Regions from separate parts of the Homo sapiens genome. Here region 1 is linked to region 2. Evidence: promoter capture Hi-C in 16 types of primary human blood cells and fetal thymus (Javierre and others, 2016). All regions are on one chromosome and are shown on one strand. The core of a region is centred on a gene start or on the middle of the fragment in contact, and the rest is flanking DNA. Distances in the headings are between cores, read along the strand shown.

Region 1 (6,692 bases), core at 3,749-6,248, 230 kb after region 2:
AGAATGTGAGCCATGGCAACCCGAAATAATAGAAAGGATCAGAATCCAGTCTAAATTTATTCAAGTGCAAAGCTAAGAATGACCATCCAGGTAACACAGACCCTAGAAGAATGAGGTCAGTGCTCCGAAGCTGGAAAGTTAAGGTCTTGCTTTTCTAGACAGATAAAACAAAGACATTTAACAGGCTTATGTTTTTTTTTTCGTACAAGGCCAGTTTATGAGATACAGCAATTTGATTACAACTTGTTTTCCTTTTCCAGTTTAAAAGTATATTTAACATTCCATCTTAGACAACGTGATAGTCGTGAAGTCTTTGTCTGGGAGAAGTAAAAGGGAAGTCAGTGTATAAAGAGATCAACAGTGAAGAGGGAAAGTGGTCTTCTTTGGCACCCTGTTGTCTTTTACAACATACTGCACAATGATGCAGGTAAAGAAGAGGCTAATCTATAATGAGAAGAACAAAGGTTACAGCTGCCTGTTTACATGATTCAGGTCTTATAGTCACACTCCTTTAAGTCTCAAAATAATTTAAAGTTCCAACAGCTTTGATTTCGAATTACTTAATTTTTACAGCAAGATCAGCATTAATTTATGTCCAGAGTCAGGTCACAGTGTGGGGTCACATTCAGGACTCAGCCTGTGACCACAGTCAGAGATCAATGTGTGTCCAGAGTCATATATAGTGTGACAGCATGACCCAAAGTGTGGGAATGGGTCTCAGTATGTGATCAGAATCCAGGCTCAGTGTCAGATCAGGGCTCAGTGTGTGACCAGGATCGGGGCTCAATATATATCCAGGATCAGGGCTCAATGTATGTCCAGAGTCAAAACAGAGTGGAAGCACGATCAGGGCTCAGTGTGTAGCCAGGGTCAGACCTAAGTGTGTGTCTAGGGTCAGGGCTCAGGGTGTGACCAGGGTCTAGGTGCAAGCCATGCCTGTGAGAACGTCTACTGTGCAATGATGATTGAAGGGCGTGACCTGTGGCCTTAGCTTCATTATCTTGGCATTTTATCTCCTGAGACAAGCTATTCGCAGGTCTTCTTCAGGTTACCAAAGACAGAATGTTACTGCCTGCATGGCAAACAAGACCCAAGATGTGGTCTTCTGGGGACCAGGAGAACAGCTGCTCTAAGCATGTGGCCTAGGAAGTGTGGCGATTGCCCTGAAGAGCTCTGCCAGCCACACAAACCCCACCATCGAGCCCCTCACTTCTATAGGCATTGCCACATTTTTTATAGAAGCTTATTACTTTTATAATTGTTTTAGATTTACAGAAAAGTTGCCAAAGATAGTACAGACAGTTCCTATATTCCCCACACCCAGATATCCTTATTGCTATCTTCTCCTTCTCCTTCTTTTTCTTCTTCTTCGACAAGGTCTCACTCTGTTGCCCAGGCTGGAGTGCAGTGGTGCAATCACAGCTCACTGCAGCCTCAACCTCCTGGGCTCAAGTGATCCTCCCGCCTCAGCTTGCCAAGTGGTTGGGACTACAGGCATGCACCCCCATGCCTGGCTAATTTGCCATTTTTTTGTAGAGATGGGATCTCACTATGTTGCCCAGGCTTGTCTCAAACTCCTGGGCTCAAGTAATCTTCCCACCTCAGCCACCCAAAGTGCTGGGATAATGGGCGTGAGCCACCTCACCCAGCCGAAATCCCTATTTCAACATCTTATATTCCTGTGGTCCATTTGTCACAATTAATGAACCAATATTGACCCATTATTATGAGCTGAATCCACACTTGATTCAGATTGGCTTCATTCTCCCCTAATGTCTTTTTCTCATCTATTACCCTCCAAGAGCCTGTGTGGTACATACTCATGTTTACAGAGGCTCCTCTGGGCGGTGACAGTTTCTCAGACTTGCCTTGTTTTTCGTGACCTCGACAGTTTTCAGAGGTACTGGTTGAATATTTTGTGGCGTGTCTCTCAATTTGCCTGGTGTTTTCCTGGTGGTTAGACTGGGATGGTCGTTTTGAGAAGACTGAAGCAGAAGTGAATCACTGTTTCTGTCACCACATCAACAGTAGGCACTGACACTGGGATTCACCACTGTTGATGCTGACCTTGACCACTTCCATGGTGTTGTATCTGCCAGGCTTCTCTCCTACCAGGAGAAGCCTGTTTTTTCCCCGATACGGTTTCACTGTGTCCCCACCCAAATCACATCTTGAATTCCCACATGTTGTGGGAGGTGCCTGGAGGGAGGTGATTGAATCATGGGGGCAGGTCTTTCCCATGCTGCTCTCATGATAGTGAATAAGTCTCATGAAATCTGGTGGTTTTAAAAATGGGAGTTTCCCTGCGCAAGGTCTTTCTCTTTGCCTGCTGCCATCCCTGTAAGACATGACTTGCTCCTCCTTGCCTTCTGCCATGATTATGAGCCCTTCCCAGCCACGTGGAACTGTAAGTCCATTAAACTTCTTTCTTTTGTAAATTGCCCAGTCTCTGGTATGCCTTCTAAGCAGCGTGAAAACACACTCATACATTCCCCCACCCTATTTCCATGCTGTCATGGTTGGAAGGAAGTCACTAAGTGCAGCCACATCTGAGGAGTGGCAATTTAAGCTCCACCTTTTCAAGCAAAGTATCTATGTAAATTATTTGGAATTCTTATGCAGAAGATTGGTCTTTTCTTTCCAATATCCTTCTTTCTTCAATCATTTATTGATATCATTATGGACTTGTAAACATTTATTTTATGCACAGGAGTATAATCCAATACTGTTATTTATTTTGCTGCTCAAATTGTTCCAGCTCTGGCCATTGGAAGGGTTTTCAGCTGCCTGATCTATTCCTTTCACAGTCCGCATCATTTTGGGTCTTTTTTTTAGGATTTTCTTCTTTTCTGGCCCCACATGGTCTTCCACAACCCAAATGTCCTTCAACTGATGAACCGATAGACAAATGTGCTCTATCCACATGGAGTACATTCCGTGGAATCAAGCACTGACATAGGCAACAAGGCAGTGAGCCTTGAGAACTTGGTGCTCAGGGACAGAAGCCAGACACAGAGGCCACATAGTATATGATCCCCTTTGCATGACAAGTGCAGAACAGACAAATTCACACGGAGGCAAAGTGAAGCAGGGGTTGCCAGGGGCTGGGAGCAGGGAAGCTGGCACTGACGGCTGATGGGCACAGGTTTCTTTTCGGAGTAAAAACATCCCAAAATTAGATTGTGGTGATGGTTGCACAACCCTGCAACTATGCAGTACTGAAACCACTGAACTGTTCACTTTAAATGGGTGAGTTTCATGAAATGAATTATATCTCAATAAAGAAGTTTGGTTTTGGTTTTGTTTTGTTTTTAAAGGTACTTTGGCTGGGCGCAGTGGCTCGCGCCTGTAATCCCAGCAATTTGGGAGGCCGAGGCAGGTGGATCACGAGGTCAGGAGATCGAGACCATCCTGGCTAACACGGTGAAACCCCATCTCTACTAAAAATACAAAAAATTATCTGGGCGTGGTGGCAGGCGCCTGTAGTCCCAGCTACTCGGGAGGCTGAGGCAGGAGAATGGCGTGAACCCGGGAGGCAGAGCTTGTAGTGAGCTGAGATCACGCCACTGCACTCCAGCCTGGGTGACAGAGCATGACTCCGTCTCAAAAAAAAAACAAAAAAAAACTACTTCAGGCTCATCTTGTGTTCCCGCATTCCATCCCTAGAATCAGCCCTTTCTCCAAGTAGTGCTCATTCCTGTGAGTGAAGAAGGATGTCAGGAGTCAAGATACGGGTGCTGGGTGGGCACTGCTGGTTGCTGGCTGGGTTTTGGGCCTCCCCATCCACCGCTAAGCCCACCCCAGAGCAGCCTTCTGTGCTGGTCAGCATTGCTGTCACTCTTTTTCTTCAGACAACCAATTGCAGGCTTGGAGAGATTGAGGGGCTGGCCCAACACCCCACAGCATGGGCATGAGTGGGGCTGAGACCTGAACTGGGGCTGGTGGGTGTAGATACCTTTCAAGGTGGCCCCATCTCTCCCTGCGGAAGGAACTGGGATTCCTTGCGTCCTCTCTCTGGTTCGAGCCCAGGCCGTGAACTCCCGAGTGACCCCACATTCCCCTGGCACAGGGGCCCTCATGGGGCACATGGGCACGGGAGCCCCACGCCAGCATCTGAGTCCCCAGCACAGCTCCTTTCCTGCGCTTGCTGCCGGCTTAGGGGCCTTAGTTGAAATCCTGACTCCTCCACCTGCACCCGGACTCAGTTTTCCCTGTGTGAATTGGGCAGGGAGGTGGCACTGGCTACACTCCCAGGATCCTCCTCTACTCGGACAAGCTCATGCCACTAGGGCACCACTTGGGCCTCACCCACTCTGGGCCAGTGACTGGGGGGCCCCAGAGGGCGTAAGGGGCCCTGGGCAGCCTCAAGGAGGTGTTGTGGGGCTCTGCAGGCATCAGGTGGAGGAGGAGTGGCCCGAGTGGGCCTTGAGCTGTGATCTATGAAGCGCTTCCTCACTGTGAGGCCAGGACAGGGATGCCCTCCGCCCATTGGTTAGAGGACAGGACAGGGATGCCCTCCGCCTGTTGGCTAGAGGACAGGACAGGGATGCCCTCCGCCATTGGCTAGAGGACAGGACAGGGATGCCCTCCGCCCATTGGCTAGAGGCTGCTATGAGGTGAATGCAGGTTTCCAGCTACCGAACTGGGCATGAAGAGAACAAGGTCCTGAAAATCTCTAGAGACTCAGTGTGGCTGGCATGTGCCCACTGCAATTCTGGGGCCTGGGTCTAATGCCCCTCCAGCCCCTGCCCCCTGCACTGGCTAGAGAGAGGCAAGGCTGAGAGAAAGGGAAGGATGGAAGGAGGGAAAAAGGGAGGGGTGGAGGGAAAGAAAGAGGGAGGAAAAGAGGGGGGGGTGGAGAGAGGGAAAGAGAGAGAGAAAGAGGGAGGGGTGGAGGGAGGCGTGAAGGGAAGGAAAGAAAAATGAGTGGTTGGAGGGGTGAAGGGAGGGAATAGGGTGGAGGAAGGGAAGGAGGAAGGAGGGCAGAGAAAACTGGAGGGTGGGAAAGAGAGAGGGGTGGAGGGAGGGCTGGAGGGAGGGAAGGGCTTTCAGAGGGAGGGAGCGGGAGCAGGACTCATCCACTGGTTCACTCAGAGGTCTAGGGCTCCTAACCGGGGTCCCAGGTCCCTTCCTGTAGGCGGGATCGAGCTCCTCCGGGCTGGCAGGTTCCTTGCTGGGATGTAGCTCCTGTGGAACCTCACCCGTGCCCCTGTTCCTTCACCTGCCCTGCTCATCCCTGAGTCCCCTCTCAGCCACCCTAGGGAGTTGAGTCTAATGCCAGGCTGGGGAGGCCCCATTAATTATGGCCCTGAGAGAAAGCCTGGGCTGTATTTGGAGAACACCTAGCTTATAAAAGACTCGGACTCGGCTTGTAAAATGCCTGATTAGCTTAAAGAGGAATGGCCCAAGCCTTCCCCCAGGCAGAGGAAGCCAGGGCAGCTGGCAGTAGGGCAGCTGGCAGTGGGCGGCAAGGCTTCATTCCAACGCCCACCCCCAGCCCAGCCCAGGGCAGCCCCTGCCCTCAGCTCTTCCCTCGGAGCCTTCCCTGAGAGCCCAGAAGGATGGCCCCTCTCCTATACGCCCACCTTGTGGGGGCTGCAGAATCTTGCTCCTAAAAGGCCTTTTGAGAAATCATTGAGTTGAGCATTTGTCAGAGCCTTCTGCTGAAGGAAAAACAGCTTTCACTCCCAAGAATATAGACGACAGTTTGAGAACTGTGCACGGGTGCACGTGGTGTGCACGGGGTAAAATCCAGCTGATGCCCATACTGAGTTTCTGGGATTCACTGTGCCCTGGTGTGCCATCTACACAAGCTAGTCCTCTCTCTCAAGTTCCCGCCTCTCTGTGCTTGTACTTCAAAATGCAGCCGAGCCCACCTGGCCTTCTCCAGGAAGCGGCGGCTGGCCCTGCACAGCCAGACTGCAAACTGCCATCCCACTGGTGTCATCTGGCTGTGACGATTTATGCTAATGTGTGTCCCACCACACACACACTCAGACTCATACACCCGCACACCCTCACACACACACTCATACACCCTCTCACACACGCTCACACTGTTTCTCACACACACACTTATGCACACACACATACTCTCACACTTAGTCACACTGTCACACACACATTCAGTCTCACATACATCCTCATACTAACACACACTCATACACTCACTGACACTTTCACACTCATATTCAATCTCACATACACACTCATACACATGAACTCATTTCTCACTCATACACTCATGCTATACTAACACACTCACACACATTCTCACACTCACTCTCACACTTATACACACACTCACATTCACTCACATATACACATGCACCACACTCGCATCCTCACACTCACACTTGCACACTCACATTCATACACTATGCTCACTCACACACACACACACTCGTTCACACTCATTCACATTCTCACACGCATACACTGACACTCACACTTTCACACACATACACTCACTGCACACACACTTTCACATTCACTCTCACACTCATATACATGCACTCATACACTCACACTAACACACTCAACTCTCACACTTACACTCATACACTGTCATTCACACACATATTCGTGCACACTTGTACACTCACACATAGCATCACACACACAGTCTTACACAGTCTCATTCACACACTCATTCACTCACATACACACAGTTATACACACGCACTCACACT
Region 2 (6,428 bases), core at 1,412-3,911:
CGGCCGTCTCAGCCTGGAGTCAGGGCTGGGCTCAGAACAGTCTGGGTGGACGGCTATTGTCAGGGACCCCAAACAGAGGGACCGGCTGAAGCCATGGAAGAAGAACATAAATTGTGAAGATTTCATGGACATTTATTAGTTCCCCAAATTAATACTTTTATAATTTCTTATGCCTGTCTTTACTGCAATCTCTGAACATAAATTGTGAAGATTTCATGGACACTTATCACTTCCCCAATCAATACCCTTGTGATTTCCTATGCCTGTCTTTAATCTTTTAATCCCATCATCTTCGTAAGCTGAGGAGGATGTATATTGCCTCAGGACCCTGTGATGATTGTGTTAACTGCACAAATTGTTTGCAGAGCATGTGTGTTTGAACAATATGAAATCTGGGTACCTTGAAAAAAGAACAGGGTAACAGCAACGTTCAGGGAACAAGAGAGATCACCTTAAACTCTGGTTGCCTGTGAGCCAGGTGAAACAGAGCCATATTTCTCTTCTTTCAAAAGCAAATAGGAGAAATATCGCTGAATTCTTTTTCTCAGCAAGGAACATCCCTGAGAAAGAGAATGTATCCCTAAGGGGAGGCCTCTGAAATGTCTGCTTTGGGGACGGCTGCCTTTTACAGTTGTAGATAAGGGATGAAATAAGCCCCAGTCTCCCGCAGTGCTCCCAGGCTTATTAGGATGAGGAAATTCCCGCCTAATAAATTTTGGTCAGACTGGTTGTCTGCTCTCAAACCCTGTCTCCTGATAAGATGTTATCAATGACAATGTGTGCCCAAAACTTCATTAGCAATTTTAATTTCGCCCCGGTCCCGTGGTCCTGTGATCTCGCCCTGCCTCCGTTTGCCTTGTGATATCTTATTACCTTGTGAAGCATGTGATCTCTGTGACCCACATCCTATTTGTACACTCCCTCCCCTTCTGAAAATCACTAATAAAAATTTGCTGGTTTTACGGCTCAGGGGGCATCACGGAACCTGCCGACATGTGATGTCTCCCCCGGACGCCCAGCTTTGAAATTTCTCTCTTTTGTACTCTGTCCCTTTATTTCTCAGACTGGCCGACACTTAGGGAAAATAGAAAAGAACCTACATGAAATATCGGGGGTGAATTTCCCCCGATAGATGACCATCTCAGCCTGGGGTCAGGGCAGGGCTCAGAATGGTCTGGGTGGACGGCCGTCTCAGCCTGGAGTCAGGGCAGGGCTCAAGGTCTGGGTGAATGGCCATCTCAGCCTGGAGTCAGGGCTGGGCTCAGACGACCAGCAGTCTTTGACCTGCCATGCCGGGAGCCACATCTCGTGACCAGGTCCTGGCCTTCCACGCTGGCCAGACGCCTGCATCCAAGACGTCCTGGTCCCTCTGACTGCACAGTGTGACAGCCACCACCCAGCCATGCCCTGTACTCCTGGATGTGATTTGCTAATTAGGGTCAATGGGGTAAGATGCCCAATTAAATATGAATTTCAGATAAACAATTTTTAGCATAAGTATGTCCCAAACATTGGTAAAAATGACTATTTGTTGTTTATCTGAGATTCAGATCAAACTGGGCATCTTGGACATTTTATTTGCTCAACTAGAAATTCATGAGTGCCTAAGGAGCTCAAGGGACATTCCAGACCCCCCAAATCTGTGTCGGACACAGGGGCAGTCACAATGGGGTGCAGTGGTTGTACCTGGTGACTCAGGACATTCGTCTACCTCCTCATGTCCCCCCTGCCTCTAGCACCACAGTGTCATGCCCTACCCTCCAGGGGGCCCAGAAAGCAGTGCTTTTGCCCAGGGCCATTGTCCCCTAGATAGAGGGTTCAGCCCAAGGAGGGCAGCCCTGATTCCCAAGCCTCCTGCAGCACTGACTCTCCACTGCAGCAGGCCTGGGGTTTCTGGCCATGGCTCGCCTTTGGCTCACCTCTCCAGAAGGTCTCTGGAAGCTTCTTCCCCACAGGGTCCTCCCTTCCACTGTAACCTTCCCTGGTTCTGGGAAACAAACTTGAGAGGCCCAGGCGCACCCCACCTCTTCTCTTTAGGTCTCCACAGCTTTTCCTCTGCCTCGTCCCCAAGGGGATCACTCTGGCCTTTCCCCTCTCCAGTGACCCTCTCCACACCCTCCCGGCTTCCCCCTTCCTCTGAGCACCCCAGATGCCAAAGGACAAGGTGAGGGAGCCTTTGGAGAAATGTTGCCTGACGTCACTGGTCCCCCACGCTCGGGGGACCCACACGGCCCGCCCTGCAGGCAGCCCCCTCCCCGCAGGCAGCCCCCTCCCCGCAGGCCGCCCCCTCCCCACCTCACCTCACAGCTGCAGGGGTCGGGGCTCGGAAGTGCTGGGGGCAGTTCAGGTTGAAGGCTGGGCAGCGTGCACTTCTCCCCCAGCCTCCTGGGGCCCGGGCATCACCGGAAGCGGAGTTTGTTCCCACTTTGTATCAGTCGCAAAGAAAGAGCACCCAATTGGACAAAAGGCAAGCAGGCTGCGTTCCTGGCCCGGAGTGGAGAAGAGTGAGCCCCTGCCCTGTCAGGGAAGCTGAGGCTGGGGGTTGTGAGGAGTCCCGTGCCGGGAGGAGGCTGCAGGAGCGCCTCAATGCACCTCTTGATACCACGCATGCTTAGCAAGGCCTGGGGACTGTCCTCTCGGGCAGGACTTCCGCCTTGTAATGACATGTCGCTGATTTAAAGGGAACTGGGGGTCACCAGCTCTGGTTTGTGCAAGTCTGGTGCGTTCTTATCTCCCTTGTATTTGGCAGGGGATCCTAAACCTCTCCTGGTATGTTGAGACATCTGGAGCTCATTAAGCCTCGGCGCCTGTAGATAAAGAGATTAAAGGAAAAAAGAAAAGAAATCCCGCCCTGGGGCAGCTGGGGTAGGATTAGCCTGGAGGCCACGCCTCTGCAGGGTCTCCCATAGGCTGGGCCAGCCTCTGCCCTCCCTGCTTCCAGAACCCCGGACGCTGATGGCCTGTGGCGGCCACTCTCCGCCCACCCCGGAGCCCAGCCTAGCGGGGAGAAGGCCGCCGGCCCGTTCGAATGTCCCTCTGCTTCCAGGGTCAGCCTGCACGCCACTCTCACAGAGGCCAGACGGGCGGTGGGGCGGGGACTCAGTTCATCCTCTGCCTGAGGAGCAGGTCTCGGGTGCGACTGAGCTTTTCACCCTTTGAGAGGAGTCAGGGACACGCAGCGTCTCCAGCAAGCTGGTGGCAGAAACTGATGGAGCATCCTAATCACAAAATAGGAAGAGAGTTTGCAAAATAGGAGCATTTACCAGAAGCCTCTCTCTCTCCCTCCCTCCCTCCCTCCCTCTCTCTCTCTCTCCCTCTCTCTCTCTCTCTCTCTCTCTCTCTCTCTCTCTCTCTCTCTCTCTCTCTCTCTCTCTCTCTCTCTCTCTCTCTCTCCCTCCCTCCCTCTCTCCCTCTCTCTCTCCCTCCCTCCCTCTCTCTCTCCCTCCCTCCCTCTCTCCCTCCCTCCCTCTCTCTCTCTCTGTGTGTCTCTCAAGTAGAAGTGGGGTCTCTATGTTGCCCAGGCTGCTCTCGAACTCCGAGGCTCAAGCGATCCTCCTGCCTCAGCCTCCCAAAGTGCTGCGATTACAGGTGTGAACTACTGGGCCCAGCCCCAGGCCCTCTTACAGGAGTGGGCTGCCTAGAAACATTCCAGTGCCATATCCCACTCCACTCCGGGTGCAGGGACAGGACCCCTGCCACCCCCAACCCAGGCCCAAAAGGAGGGGCCAGGAGGGGAGGGGCCACCAAGGCAGGTGAGCTGCTTAAGAGGAGCGAGGGCTGTGGACAGTCCTGCGGACTGCAGGAGGGGCCAGCAGGATCAATATCCAGCTTCTCTCTCCTGCTGGGCTCCTGCTGGGGCTCCCTGTTGGTCACCCCAAAACCTACTGTCTCTCATCGCTGCCGGGGCTGGCCAGGCTCAGCTGCTGGTTCTGCCTTGGGGCACCTCCTAGGTGGAGTCAGGGTGGCTGAAGGCTTCCCCACTCATGCGTCCACTGTCTGGACATCCTGCCCCTGCCCGACCTCCAGGAGTTGCAGTGTGTGAAGGCCACACCACAGCCCCTCTCTGCTGCCTCCCTCATGTCTCCTCCAGAATGATGCTCTTAACCCCCTCATTAGAGGCCCCCATCCTTCCCAACTGTACCTCTTGACACCCTGAGTACAGTTCAAGAGACCCTGAAGAAACTCAGAAAAGTGACAACTGGAGGCTCTGGGAGAGAAGAGTGAAGTCACTCACATTTGTTTTTATTTACTTATTTTTTTTTTAGAGATGAGGTCTTGCTTTGTTGGCCAAGCTGGTCTCTTGAACTCCTGGCCTCAAATGATCCTCCCATCTTGGTCTCCCAAAGTGTTGAGATTACAGGTGTGAGCCATTCTCTCCGGCTTACTCTGCGTTTTACAGGATGGGATGTGTTGATGAAAGAAAGCCAAACTCTAAAATATTTGAAGAGGTTTATTCTGAGCCAAATGTGAGGACCATGACCTCACATGACAGAGACTCAGGAGGTTCGGGGAACATGTGCCCAAGGTGGCCGGGGTACAGCTCGATTTTATACCCTTTAGGGAGAAAGAAGTTACAGGATGAGATGGTTTGGATTTGTGTCCCCGCCCAGATCTCATGTGGAATTGGCGGAGGGGCCACGTGGGAGGTGATTGGATCGTGGGGTCAGACCTCCCCCTTGCTGTTCTGGTGATAGTGAGTGAGTTCTCAGGAGATCTGATGGTTTGAAAGTGTGACGTGTCCCCCTTCGCTATTTCTCCCTTGGGCTCAAGGGATCCACCTGCCTCGGCTTCCCAAAGTGTTGGGATTACAGGTGTGAGCCACTGCGCCCGGCTGAAGACTCTGTTGATCCTGATTTTTTCCCCATTGCTATTATGGCTGTTTTTCTCCTCTTCTTTTCTTGACTGGTCTCCCACAAGAATTATCCACATTTTTAAGGCTGGGCGTGGTGGCTCACACCTGTAATTCCAGCACTTTGGGAGGTTGAGGCAGGTGGATAATTTTAGGTCAGGAGTTTGAGACCAGCCTGGCCAACATGGTGAAACCTCATCTCTACAAAAAATAACAAATATTAGCCGGGCATGGTGCACAAGCCTGTAATCCCAGCTACTTGGGAGGCTGAAACACAAGAATTGCTTGAACCTGGGAGGCGGAGGTTGCAGTCAGCTGAGATTGCACCACTGCACTCCAGCCCTGGCAACAGAGTGAGACCCTGTCTCAAAAAAAAAAAAAAAAAAAAAAAAAAGCAAGAGTTATCAAAGTTTTTAGTTTATCCAAAGAAATAACTAACTTGTGTATCCTAATATGTACATAATTTCCATATTATTAATTTCTGATGTCACTTTTATTCGTTTCTTTCTTCCGTTTTTTTGGATTCCATTTGCTGTTCTTCCTGTAATTTCTTGTGATGAATGCTTCATTCATTAATGTTGAATCTTTTTTTTTTTTTGAGATGGAGTCTCTCTCTTGTCACCCAGGCTGGAGTGCAATGGCGCGATCTCGGCTCACTGCAACCTCCCGGGTTCCAGCTGCCCTCCCGTCCAGCTGCCCTCCCGGGTTCCAGCGATTCTCCTGTCTCAGCCTCCCAAGTAGCCGGGATCACAGGTGTGTGCCACTAGGCCCAGCTAATTTTTGTATTTTTAGTAGAGACAGGGTTTCACCCTGTTGGCCAGGCTGGTCTCCAACTCCTGACCTCCGGCCTTGGCCTCCCAAAGTGCTGGCATTACAGGCATGAGCCACCGTGCCTAGCCTGAATGTGTTTTTAATGTATGAAGGTAAGGGCCAGTGGGAAATCTTCCCTTTTAACCCCTGACATTTCCATGAAAACGCGACTCAGAAAAGGCAGATTAACTGGAGAAAAGGCGCAGAGATGTATTAATGTGTCCACAGGGGAAAACGCAGAGCGATATCCCGCACCCTGCAGCGGGGTTCAGACGCTTAGGGACCATCCTGGCCACACAGGCCATGAGGGGAGAAGAGGATTCTGAGGGCAGTGGAGCAGGGAGCGGAGATTAACTTGTAGATAGTTCTCTTTGGAATGTGAATGGGCCTGAGGGACAGACATTATTATCTTGTGAAAGGGTTTGTTCAGGTATGGTGACATTCTTTGTCTGGGGGTAGGGGGAAGAAAACACAATTGTTCTTGGTGAGTCCAGACTTTAGGCAGACAAAGGAACTTCAGAGAACTCCATCCTAACTTTGGGAGAGTCTGTGGGTTGTGGGGGAGGACAGAAAGTTCTTGAAGTTTCTTCAGCATGTCAAAGTGCCATATTTTGGGGTATTGGTTTCTGAGACCTAACAGTGGATACAGTTCTCTCAAAGCATGCAGTTATGGCTGGGCGTGGTGGCTCATGCCTGCAATCCCAGCACTTTGGGAGGCTGAGGAGGGCGGATCACCTGAGGTCAGGAGTTCGAGACCAACCATGGCCAA

Evidence for each region. The method cuts DNA at HindIII sites, captures the fragments that hold promoters and counts their contacts. A CHiCAGO score of 5 or more calls a contact.
Region 1: a contact is called between a fragment that was not itself captured here and the fragment with the promoter of LY6S-AS1 in region 2, in 3 of 17 cell types (naive CD8 T cells, total CD8 T cells and activated CD4 T cells). The highest score is 6.9, in naive CD8 T cells.

The regions. Positions count from the first base shown.
Region 1 is chr8:142,808,740-142,815,431 of GRCh38, reverse strand. No RefSeq gene overlaps it. Among named protein-coding and RNA genes, the nearest start is that of GML, 23 kb to the left of the region's middle. RefSeq lists enhancers at 1-120, 1-527. The HindIII fragment of the contact is 7,507 bases long and covers 1,245-6,692 here.
Region 2 is chr8:143,035,442-143,041,869 of GRCh38, reverse strand. LY6S-AS1 (LY6S antisense RNA 1) reads right to left here and starts at 2,661. Exons shown (of 6, transcript NR_149322.1): 1 at 2,301-2,661. It overlaps LY6S (lymphocyte antigen 6 family member S), which reads left to right. Exons shown (of 4, transcript NM_001406478.1): 4 at 1-1,031. RefSeq lists enhancers at 1-416, 2,438-2,989, 5,867-6,428. The HindIII fragment of the contact is 8,465 bases long and covers 1,944-6,428 here.